Linked DNA regions of Homo sapiens: region 1 is linked to region 2. The links are contacts of gene promoters, found by promoter capture Hi-C in blood cells and fetal thymus (Javierre and others, 2016). All regions are on one chromosome and are shown on one strand. Each heading gives the region's core, a stretch centred on a gene start or on the middle of the fragment in contact. The rest is flanking DNA. Distances are from core to core; before and after follow the strand shown. Region 1 has its middle 6.1 kb from the start of NKX2-2. Region 2 holds the start of INSM1 (INSM transcriptional repressor 1).

Region 1 (6,277 bases), core at 312-2,811, 1.2 Mb before region 2:
GGAGGAGCCTGGAGCCGGGGCGAGAGGTCTGTGACCTCCCGCGAAGTCGTGCTATCGGCCTTGGATCCGCGTATCTAGTGTAAACGCGGTTTCACACATAAATAACGTGCCACATCTGGCCCTTTGGTTTTATGGCGTCTTAGCGACCGAGCAATTTATAGATGGCGACCTTGTTAACCAGCAGTCCGGGCTCGCCAGGAGCTGCGGAGTCCAAGGCACTGCTGGGGACGGAGGAGGGGCGAGGGTCAGGAGAAACCTGGGGTCCCAGATCTCCTGCTCAGAGGGGCGCAGGAGGGAGGGAATCTACCCGCGCGTTTGGGGGCAGGGGGCCGAGGCGGGGTGGAAGCCCCCTCCCCGCAAAGCCTACCATGTGGCAGCTGAAAGAGCCATCGAAGCCCAAGTGTGTTTGCGCTCATACCCAATTTATTACCGCTGAACATATGGCCAATATTTTGACTCACGTCAGTCCGGCAAGGAAAACAAACAGAGCGCGCGCGGCGCGGGGGAGCTGCCCCCTCCGCTGGGGCTGCGCGGTGGCCGCGGGGCCGGAGCTAGGAGGGTGGGGCCGCTGGGCCGGGAGCCTGGAGCCAGGAGCCCGGAGCCGGGAGGGGGAGCGCTCGCCGGCCGCGTCGAGCCGCCGCCCGACCGCCCGCGACTCCGCAGCCGCCCGCGACTCGGGATAAAGAGCGGCCGGGACCTGCGCGCTCGCCCAGCCGAGGCTCCAGCGGCGCAGTCGCGCTCCAGGTGAGCCTCCAGCTCGCACGCGTTTCCGGTGAACGCGGGATGGGGATGGCGCGGGGCACCCGGCGGAGCCCGGGAGCCGCAGCGGAGCCCGGCGGTGGCGATGGAGGAAGCCCGGCGTCGCCCTCGCTGCCAGGCGCTGACTGTCTGGTCCTCCTGCCACAGCCGCCCGGCGCGGGAACGCGCTCCGGGCACGGTCACCGCGGCCTGCCAGCAGAGAGGGGTCTCGGGGCACCGTCGTCGCCGCCGAGCGGCGCCGGAGCTCGGGTTCACGGCGGACCCCGGTTATGAGCCCCTCGCTCTCCCGGGTCCTGACTCGGCTCGATCCCCAAGCCGCGTAGTCCGGACGCAGCAGGTGGGCAAGTGCGGGCCTCCGAAGTTCTCCCCGACTTTGCGGATCACGGCAGGAGTGGCGAGCACTCGAGGACGGGCAGGGCCCCTCTGTCGCGCCTGCAGTCAGGAAAAGTTTTACCAGCCGCCGAGGCCAGGTGATCCCGCCGCTGCGCACTTTCCGGTGCGGTCAGGGAAAGCGGGACTGTCCCAGGGGCTGGGAAGGTGCGGGGCTGGGAGGCGGAGGAGGAGGGAGGGGCGCGGCACCCGCGGCGGTCCCCGCCTGCGGTCCCCTGAGCCCCGCCTGGTAGGGCGCGCGGTGGGGGAAGGGCGCAGAGCGAGGGGGGTCCGGGTAGGTGGAGTACTAGATAAAGACGCGCCTTGAAATGCGGCGGGGCTGTCGCCGCAGCTCCGGGAGTAGAAGGCGGAGCGGGCGCGCGGAGCGCCTGGCTAGCTCCCTCCCGATTGCCCGGGGCCGGTTGCGCCTCGGCTGGCGGGGCCGCGGTGAGGAAGGGGCGGCCGCTGCACCCACCTCCACCGGGTAAGTCGCCCCCTGTGCGTCGCAGGGAGCTCGGGATCGGGGATTGAAACAGAGGCAGAAGTCCCGAAGGTAATTTGGAGATGGCGCCCAGTGGAGACAGGGGCTTCTCCTCAGACGGAACTGGGACGTGAGGGGACGGTGGTGATGAGCACGAGGGCAAGTGGTGGGAGTCGCAGACAGGAGGAGCCGGGGCTGAGGGCCCGCGCAGTGGACTGAGGTCTCTGGAGAGGCGACTGAAGACTGGAGTTTGGGAGGCGAGTGTCGCCTGGGCCGCGCCCGGCGCCGGACAGTTCTCGTTTGTGTCAGTAGAGATCGCCAGAGGATCAGAAATGAACCTCGGTGGGGTCCTTGTCTCCGAGGGGCGCCCCCTCCGCCCCAACCTCCTCCCACAACACACACGCACACACTACCAGGAGGCCCTTTGGAGCTCCTCTGGCGCCTTCTCGACTTTAGTGGCTCTTGGGGGTGGAAAGGGGACGTTGCGTCTAGGGGAAGGTTGTGAACCTCTGGGGCTCACATTGGAGAGAGAGAGACAGAGCCCTAGGAACCCCCTCTCTGTGCCCGAGGGCCCAAGGGTGCATTCCCTGTCCTTCCCGGAACCAGCCCTTAGCTCCAGCTAAGAGCGTGCCTTCTCCGCGCCACCGACAACTACTTTTCACATCAGCCTGCCCGACCCAGCTTTAAGTGCTGAATGCAACCCGTTAGGAGAGCCGCTTGTTTTCCAAAGTCTTGTGGTAATGATTTTGTCACGTGTTAAGAAGTAAATTCAGATAAGAGAGTGCTTTCAGCGCGTGTTTCCTGGAGAAACCCAGATCTCCCGTATTGAAATCGCCCTCATCCGGGGAAGGTCGGGCTTGGCTGAAAGAACGTTCCTGAAGGCAACACTGACGATGCGTAATCTCATTGTAACATATTTAGTCATTAGAGCAGCGCGAACGAATAAAGCCAAGGAGTTCGCCCAGGGGGACGTGGCGTTTGGTTCCCCAATAAACCGGTGATAATGGATTGGCTGGGACAGGCTCGTTTGGCCCGAGGGGGGCTTAAAGCTAGGTTTTTAAAGAAAATATTGGAGAGAGGCCGGTTCCATTTTGTAGCGTGCCCGGAGCCACAGTTCGTGTTCAATTTAACATCCATGAAAGTTAAACGGCTTTCCTCGCCTTTTATTTTATTGGATGCATTTTTAAAGATCTCATTAAAGTGCATTTATCAAAGTCCTAACATATGCCCGCAGGGTCTTATGCCCACACAATGAAGCTGATTAATAGAAAGACAAATACTAATTTCTATTACTATTTACATCCTTGGGAGATATGTGCCCCTTTTGTGGTGGGAGGGAGGCAGATAATTGGGAAAGTGTTGTATATTTTGCCTTGAAAAAGAATAGGGAGAAGGGAGCTCACCTAGATGCCTTCCTCCTGCATCCACAGTTAATCGCAGGGGGACTCCAGGCTCTAGGTCCCAGGATCAGTTCTCTCCGTGGCATCAATGGGGTTCCCGCCACTCTGTAGGAACGGGGTGGGGATTTTCCCCCAGACACAGAATCTGAAAGTCTCTGGGCCTGGAGAACTTATCTACCCAACTCCTTCTTAGTTGACTTGGGAGGATTGTCCATCTGGGAGGCATCCACTCATTCTTCCCTTCCTGGGGCAATTTAAAGAGTTAATATAATATGGACCAAAGGAAAAAAAAAAACTCACCTTAGGCTTGAACCCAAAGCAGGCTGAGATTTCCTTTCTTTTCACACTAATGCCCACTTTCTCGTCCACCTGTCCAATGGCTGTGAGTCTCTCCTGCCAGAGATCTGCCGGGCACGGTCTGGCCTCTCCAAAGTTGCAGACTCACACAGCTTTAGGCCTCCCCAACCCAGAGACTCCACTCTGCCACCCCACAGACAGAAGGGATTTCCTATGACCCTGTTTCCTTCTCCGGGGGCAGAAGGTGAGGGCAATTGGAGCTGGGATGGATTTTCATTTTCTGGTTAGCAAAGGTCCCAGCACGGGGTAGTACTCCTGGGGTGCATTCCCCTATTTCTTTCATCCAGGACGTGAGAGCTGACACCTCTGCTTCCTGCAGCCCCTGCTCCCGCATTGGAAGTCGAAGCCAAAGTGGGGCTGTTTTGGAGATGCCATCCTTAAGGTGAACGTCTTTATCGCCACACTCAGGGACCAGATTGGGTGACATTTTCCTTCCCCATTGATTTCAAGTGCATGCCACGCTCTGAGTCTCCAACCCAAGATAAAATAAACCTTCCCCCTCCGACAAAACCTTTGTGTCCGCGCCGTTAATCCTTGCTGGAGCAGGAAGGTGCAACGCGCTTTGTTTCCGGAGTGAATGAAGACAAACGCTTGCACCTTGGCGCTAACCAGACAATAAACTAATCCACTTGAAGGTTGTTATCTGAGATGGGATGTGCGAGGGCCTGAGAGCTCAGCCACATACTGTACCAGGAAAGGAGTTTCTTTTCAACCCTTTTTCATTCCAAAAAAAAGACGAAGAAATGAAATGAAGTCAAACAAATTAGTGTTTCCAAATAAAGGGAAAAGACCTTGTGTGTTTAATGATTGGAAGCGCTTTTGTGGGTGGGGAGTGTGAGGTGTGCCGCCTAGGGCTGCTGAAGCTTTGGGCTCCTCAAGGTCGCCCCCTCTTTAGAGCAGGCCCCAAGACCCCACCCCTACCCCCGAAGACTTTCTCTGCCCTTTACTCCCCAGGAGGACAGGGGGCAGGTACCTGCACTGCAAGCTTTCACCACCGGCTTGAACGGGGAAGGATGCGAGCGCCGTCTCCAAAGAGGTGCCCAGAACAGGGATGGGGGGAGGGTCGGATGCCGTCCACGGAGCCCACTTCTTCCACAGGCACAAGAAAGGCTCCCCTCCGTAGGGTGTGCCGAGGCCTCGCCTGCTCTCCTGTATCTTCCTTTCTTGCCTGGTTTGCTGTTGTTTAGAGCGCACCCCCACAACAGGGGGCGTAAAGCTGAGGCGTGGGAGGGCAGAAGCCGGGAAAGCAGGGTGCCTCTGGGCGGCCCCCGTGCCCTGGAGCGCAGAAAAGGCGCTCGTGTTTGAGCTACCTGGGAAAGTAAACAGGTAAACACTGAGCCGACTTAGAGGGCCACTTGTCCTGGAGTGGGGCCACTTAGCCTGTGTACATTCGCCTCCCCTCCTGGGCCTCCGGCGATTGTTCAGCCTCCCCGCGCCCGCTCCAGCCGCCTGAACCCGAACTCAATTCGTTGCGGAACCCAGAGCAGCAGAGAGAGCGAGGCTCTCCTCTAGCTTCCAGGGGCACAGGTTCTCTTCCTCCCCTCTCCTGCCTTTCCCCCGGGCGTAGGACTCCCAATGCGTCCGTTCTCAACCTAGGAAGAATGAATAGAGCTAGAGATGTGTACGGAATCTGGAGCCCCAATGCTGATAATAAAGATCGAGTTGAGGGGTCCAGCTGTTCAGGTTACCCCAGCAGGGGCGCGCGGTGTTCGGGACGCTAAGGAGACACCAAGCAAATCTCCTCCGGCCCGGGGCATGCTGGGTTCAGAACTTCCAGCACCCAGCTCAACTTCCTCCCCAAGCATGCAGCAGAACGAGGCATCTTGCAGAGTGCCTACGAGGTCTCCAGACCACGGCAGCTGAGCCCAAAGCTCAAACCCAAACTTGACGGAACGGAGGACATTGAACTCGCTTGGGTGCAAGACGGTACCTGGAAAGAATTTACTAAAGAATGCCGAGTGGGGGAGACCAGGAGCTGAAACTGGTGCAGGCAGACGCTGACAGGGTGGGAGTGGTGGGCCCTTACTGAAGAACCCTCCGGAGGGGGAAGGGAGCGGGGCAGGGCCTCTCAGCCTGCGGGTGTGCGGGATCGCAGAGAACCAAAGCTCCTGGGCTCTAGAAGGCCTAGCTGTGGTACTCTCGGGGAGGCCTCTTGGGGAGTCCTCAGGATGCAATCACCTGTTTAATTGGGACAGAAAAGGTGCGTTTGGCGCCTGGCCCCTAGGCTCTTTGGGCGCAAGCCGGGCCCAAGAAATTGAGGAGACACTGGACTGTGCTCTGGGCACCGGACTTGCCCTGGCCGCCAGCTGGGCCTGCGCAGGCCTCCCGGCGTCCACAGGCCGCTCCTGGGGGACTTGCATTTTATGATCTTCCACTAACAAGCCCAGTTTCTCCCCTTCAATTACGGACCTCCCAGCGGTCTCCCAGCGCCTTTTCAATTGCAAATGTTAACGCTCTGGAAATGGACGCGGGAACCACACGGACGAGAAGTGATGGGGAAATGAGTCTCGAGGTCCCGGGAGAGGCTGAGTGCTGTGGACCCGGAAGCACCGATCGCGGAGGAGGCAAGGCCGAAGCTCTCTCCAATTCTCTCCCTCCCTGCCCAGCTGCCCCCAGGCCAGGGGAAATAAAAACTGGAAGACTCGCTGGGGTGAAAGTGTAGGAGGGGCCGGAGTCCAGGAGGCGTCCTGCGAGGGCAGGGGAAGTGGGCGCCTCAGGTGCTCCGACAAGAGGACACCGCAAGCTGAGACCCAGAAGGATTCGGCTGGTCATTGAGGCTAAGGGGCAGGCGCAAAGGCAAACCCGACCTTTGAGAACTGGGCTGAGGGCCTCCTTCTCTAGGCGCCTATGGCAGCACTCCCTCCCCGTGATTAATTCCAGGAGCCAGGATTCCCCTAGGAAAGCAATCCTC
Region 2 (5,775 bases), core at 1,569-4,068:
AGTAAATAGTTATACAGTTGAAACAGTTCTATTGAAGCTTTCTATAAATAGCTAACAATTAAGAAAATAATGTATGTAGAAAAGAGATTGCATTTAAAAGTAAGAGCTGTCGGTTGTACAAGGGCCCTGGGGACCCTCGAAGCAGAATAAATGATAGGTTGTCTGTAATTCACTCAGATAGGTATAAAAGTTAAAACTTTAAGCAGATCCCTTTAGAAAAAGGCTCTCTTCTAAAACGCACAGTGGAATGTCAAGAGTGGCAGGGTGGGGAGGGGGCAGCGCGCCAAAAAAATCTGCAATCAAATAATATCATAATCTTCATAATTAATATAAATAAATAAAGAATAAATAACAATTACTCATAAATCAACATATACATTTAGAGGGAACTGATAGTCCTACCTCAACAAAGATGATCAAACCAAAAAGTCTTACGTGAAACACTGAGGCAGTTACTACAGCATCTTCGGAACACTCCCTTCCCTCCCCCCACAAAACAATCCCAGACAACAGTTCAAGGCATTTGTGGCTATACTAAAGAAAACTCTTTTTTAAGCAATTTGATTTGTTCACATACAAAAAGGTAAAGCCAGACTCCAGCAGTTCACAAGCCATAATAAAGCTAATCGTGTGGGAAGTTCAATTTACAGCCTGTGAAATATAAAGGCATTTATTCCTCAAGATTCACCCAAAACAACCCGTACGCTACATACATAGAGAGCAGAGATTGGTAGGCGAGGCGAGACCAGACCGCATTTCTAGACCATGAACACAGCGAATACTAGCAAGAAAAAAAGCTTCTCCCCGCCAAGGGGAGGCTTCCAACCACGAGACAAACGCGTACAGCTTTTCTCCCTTGTACAGAAAGAGACTGACTCCTGTTGCGCCATGGGGGAGGCGGAGGGACACAACGTAAAAGTGGGGGTTCCAAAAGGAGTCAAAAGGAGAGTATGGGGTTACCGTCACGCCACACCGAGAGAAGCGGAGACGACACTTTCACCCGGTGGGGGCGGGGGCGAGGCTCCCCCAGCGCGGACTCGGGTTCGGGGAGTGCAGGGCGCACTCTCTTTGTGGGTCTCCAAGCGAAGGCACAGTTCGGGGGCCGGGGTGGAGGGCGCGCTCTAGCAGGCCGGGCGCACGGGCACCTGCAGGAGGATCACCTGTCTGTTTTCGGATGGGTGGCACTTGTTGATGTGCCGCGTAAGGCCGGGCGAGCTGTAGAAGGTGGCCGGGCAGTACTTGCAGGGGAACACCTGGGCGGCGTGCAGCAGGCGCAGGTGGCGCTCCTGAGCGCCCTTGCTGGCGAACGACTCTCCGCACACTGGGCACAGGTGGCACTCGGCGGACGCACTCAGGCCCAGCACGCCGGCCCCCTCGCCGTCGCCGGCCGCCTCCTGGGGCGCCTTCTCGTCGGGCCCGGGGTACAAGGCCAGTAGGTCCTCGGCCGGGGGCGCTAGCGGCGCGCCCTTGGCCTGCAGCGCCTGGTGGTGCGCCAGCAGGTGCTTGCGTAGGTAGGCCTGGCGGCGGAACTTCTTGGCGCAGTGATGGCACTCGTAGAGCCCGTCCTCGGAGCCCGACTCGGACACGCCGCCGGGGCTCGGCGTGTCCCGGTCGCTGCCGCCGCCGGGTGCCTCCCGCGCCTCAGCCCTGGCTGCTGCTTCTGGCTCCGGCGCGCGGGCGGCGGCGGGCGCGGGCCGCGGTTTGTGCCAGCGGCGGTGCGAGGCCAGGTTGGCCGGGCAGCTGAAGACCTTGGCGCACTCGGGACAGCGGTACTCCACACGCACGATGCGCGAGCATTTGTGCTGCGCCAGCGCGAACGGGTCGGCGTACTCCTCCTTGCACAGCTGGCAGATGAACTCGCCCAGCGGCCGCGCCGCGCCCCCCGCGCGGCCCCGCGGCGCCTCCACCGGGCCCTCCTTGATCTTGAGCCCCAGCACGGGCGACGTGGTCACCTCGTCCTCGAAGTGCAGCTTGCGGATGGCCTTGGGCTTCTTGGCGCCCGGGGCCTTGACTGCCTTGGCGGGCGGCTCCGCGGCGGTAGGGGGCGGGGGCCGCTTTCCCGGGGGCCGCAGGGCGGCGGCAGGGGGCAGTGGGGGGCCGGGGCCCGGGCCGCGGGCCGCCTCGGCGCCAGCCGAGAACGCCGTGCCCATCTTGAGCTCGGCGGGCGCGAAGAGCAGCGGGTCGCCGCCGCAGGTGCCGCCTCCGCCAGCTCCGCTCGCGCCGCCGCCGCCGCCCCCTCCGAGCAGCGCGGCGGGCGTGGGGAAGGACTCGGCCGAGACCGGCGAGCCCAGGTTGAAGCTGCGTTCGAAGTACTTGTGCTTCTCGTGCTCGCGGCTCACGGGCCGCGTGGGACTGTAGAGCGGCGCGGGGTGCGCAGCCTCGGGGTTGCCGAAGTGCGCGGCCCGCGGGCCCTGCGGGGGTGGCTGCGGCCCAGGCGCGCAGGCAAGCGCGGCGGCGAGCGCTGCATGGGCGCGCTCCGCGGGCGGCGGCGGCGGCAGCGGCCCGGGGACCGGGCTCGGCGCCGGGGGCTCGGCGCGGGCGCCCCCGCAGCTGGGCGAGAGCAGCAGTGCGCGGTCGCCGTCCTCGCCGCCGCGGACCCGGTAGGAAACGGGCGTGGACTTCTTGCTGCGCTTCACCAGGAAGCCGCGGGGCATGTTGGCGCGGCCCGAGGGCACGGCACTGGCTCGGTCCCCCCTCCGCGCTCGGCCCCGGCGGCCCTCAGTGCCCCCGGCCCATTGCCCGGGCGCGGCGGCTGCGGGACTCGCGTGGCGCCGGCGACGGCTCGGCCCAGCTCTGCGCCCTGCACGCGCGTCCCTGTCCCCGGGCCCGGCAGCCGCTCCCTTTTAACGGGGGGAGGGGGCCATTGTTCTCGCCTCCCGCTTCCCCTGGAGCCAATCAGCGCGTCCGCAGCTCCTCAGCCTGGCAGGGTGGGAGGGCGATGGGGCGGCCAAAAGGGGGCCGGGACTCGGGGGTCGCCCGGTAGGTGCGGCAGATGTACCTGAGGGCGCGGGGCCCCCGCGCGCGCCCCTGGTCGCCCCGCCCGGCGCCGCCGCCCCGCCCGGTCCAGGCACACGCCCGGCCCCGCCTCCCTTCACGGTCTGCTGCTTCTCTATGGGGAGGCGCACGTGCCTGGGCTTTGTGTCTCTCCTCCGGGGGGCGCGGAGCCGCCAAATGGGCCCGTCCATCAGCGCGACAATGCACGCCCCCCTCCCGCGCGGGGATTACCCGCGGGTCGCTAGCAAAATAGCAACAAAGGAGAAGAATGGCCCCAAATATGTCAGGAGGGTTCAATCCGCGAGCCGGAGCCGAGGGGGAAGTTGTGCGCGCTGATTGGGTGGGGGCGGGGGCGCGCCGGGGCGGTGCGGGGGAGATCGTTGCGGAGGCGCAGTGGCTCCGCGTGGTGTTTGGGAAATAAACAAGAATCCGAGAGAGCAGCAGGGTCCGGACGGCCTCCGCCCGGACCTTGGACGGATGGGCCGCTGGACCCAAGAGGCCAAGCAAAAGGGTTCCCCGGGGTTCCAAGTGTGGACAGGGGGCCCGGCCTTCTGGCAGTGGCCGAGGGCGATGTTTGTGCTCGCAGCCTCCGCGCGCCCACGGGGCTAGAGAAGGTTTCTTTCGAGTTTGAGAAGGAATTGGCACGGCCTTCTCAGTCTCCCGAAAGCGCGGGATTGGAGCGCGGGCGGGCTGGGCTGGGTTCCCAGAGGAACGTGAATTTCTGAACTTTTGGGTTCTTGGAGGCTTGGGAATGGCATCTTTGGCGGGGCCCGACCCAGGCCGCCCGGAGCTTCCGCGTGGTCCAAGGCTCGGTTAATCCGGGTCGAGTTGGCCGAAGCCCGAAACGCGCGGTCGGCCTCGTGCGCCCCAGTGAAGTTGGCTTTCTCCTCCCCGCGCGGCCTCATGCATTTTCATTCCGAGCGGGCATTTTGTTTGCCGGTTGACATCAGATGCTAAATCAAGGGCTCCAATCAAGGCGCTGCGAAATAAAGGGGCTGCCTGTCTGGGCGCAGCCCCCACGGAGCCGTGCCCCCTTCACCTTTGTGAAGGAAATTAACCTCCTGCTATTGAGCTCCGGTCGCGGCCAATCTGGACGCAAAAGAGACGCGTGCTGGACGGGGGGAGGGGGGGCAATCTGTACTCTGAGGCAGGCTGAGGCCTCCGAGAGGACAAGCCGCCTCCCCTGTGCCACCAGGAAGAGACAACAGCGAAGATTCCCCCCGCCCCCACCCCCACCCCCACCTCCGCTGCCGTTCCGTTTGGACCCAGACTGGGCCGCCTGCCTCCATCCTCTGTCCAGCCCAGCCCCGAGGAAACACAAAAGGCAGAATCTTCGGGGGACAGGGCAGAGAACCCCACGAGTGCGTAGTGGCCCTGATCGTCCAACACTGGGGAACAAATAGCCAAGCCACATAAAATGTCATATGCTGTGAGGAAAATGTCACTTTATTGAAAGAGAAGGAAACATTTTTCTGCAAAGCTTTGTATACCAGACAGATTTTGCTGAGTTTTACTTACGCTTAATTCCACTGAAGGTATTTAATTGTTTTGGATTTTCCCTCTGAAAATACCCTGGCGTAGAAATTAAACATGTAAAAATAGAGTCCACATGAGTCATAAGTTGTGATGGGGACAGTTGTTAGGCTTAATTAATTAAGGGGTTAATCAGGTTGGTTAATCAAGGGAAAGATATTTGATAATTTTATGTTTGTAATATTTTAACTCACACACTGAAAAGGGAAGAATGCATATAGTGAAATATATTTTGAAAAGTCTCACCCTAGTTTTAAAAATGCTGTGGTGAGTGCTAGTCTCCCCAAAAGTTAGAAATCTTAAAATGAGTTTATCTAAAATTTATAAACATATTTCTATCTAAAAGTAACTGATGTTATTTCCTTGCTCTTTTGAGCTCTGATTAATAGTGCTGATGAAATTAGAAGTGGGAAAAGGATTCCGAGACAGCTTTGGCCAATTTTATTTTCTAATCACGAATCCCATCTGGATTGTAGAATAGCATAGGGCGGGGGCTCGGCCTGCCCCATTCGGTCTTGCATATGTAACACTCCTTCCATTCAACAGATAACAGAGAGTTAGTCACCTTGTGAATCCTTTAAAAATAACAACACCCATAATTGTAAATAAGCCGTGGGGATGGGAAACCGGCACCTCTACCAACAAAAAAAACAAAACAACTCCTGCGTGAGTGAATTCAAACAGGGCTCTGAATTTAGCCAAGGGAATCTATTAAACGCTACTGAGATACTGAGATTCAATGAATCCGTTTCTTTTTCTTTATTTGTGGCTTCCAGTCTTGCTAGCGTAAATGAAATCTGCTTTCAGACGGGTACAGTCAAAATAAATGGAAACTTGAAAGGTACTAGTATTGGAAACTAATTTCACCACCCGGGGCTGGAAGGAGTTAGGCTGCGCACGCGCGCACGCACACACCAGCGACCTCCAAGCAGGTGTAGCCCAGCCCGGGCCGTGGATCGCAGCCGCCTTCTGCGTGATTTTCTCAGAACCTGTGCACCCGCATGCATGGGGACATCGGGTCGAGATATTTGTCTTCGCCTGGGAAGAGCAAAGCGCCATCACAGTGCGCCCCCGACGCCGGCCTTGGCGCACGCGATTCGGAGAATGGGCCGCGTGAAGTTAAGTTGGGGGAAACAGCGCGGATTTGCCCCCCTCCAGGGGGGCTTCGCGAAAGTCAGTGAACATAAGGATCCAAGGCAGAGCACCCAAGGGGCCTTCCCCGGCTTCAGGTGACTCCTCCCCTTCCTT

Evidence for each region. Contacts are between HindIII fragments. The CHiCAGO score rates a contact against its expected background, and 5 or more counts as called.
Region 1: a fragment that was not itself captured here is called in contact with the fragment with the promoter of INSM1 in region 2 in 1 of 17 cell types (fetal thymus); the score reaches 5.7 in fetal thymus.

What each region holds. Positions count from the first base shown.
Region 1 is chr20:21,517,032-21,523,308 of GRCh38, reverse strand. It overlaps a transcript of NKX2-2 not described here. Among named protein-coding and RNA genes, the nearest start is that of NKX2-2, 6.1 kb to the right of the region's middle. RefSeq lists an enhancer at 1,606-2,420. The HindIII fragment of the contact is 5,340 bases long and covers 1-4,231 here.
Region 2 is chr20:20,365,147-20,370,921 of GRCh38, reverse strand. It overlaps INSM1 (INSM transcriptional repressor 1), which reads right to left and starts at 2,818. Exons shown (of 1, transcript NM_002196.3): 1 at 1-2,818. The coding sequence starts at 2,654. The coding sequence ends at 1,122. RefSeq lists an enhancer at 2,955-3,725. The HindIII fragment of the contact is 3,677 bases long and covers 800-4,476 here.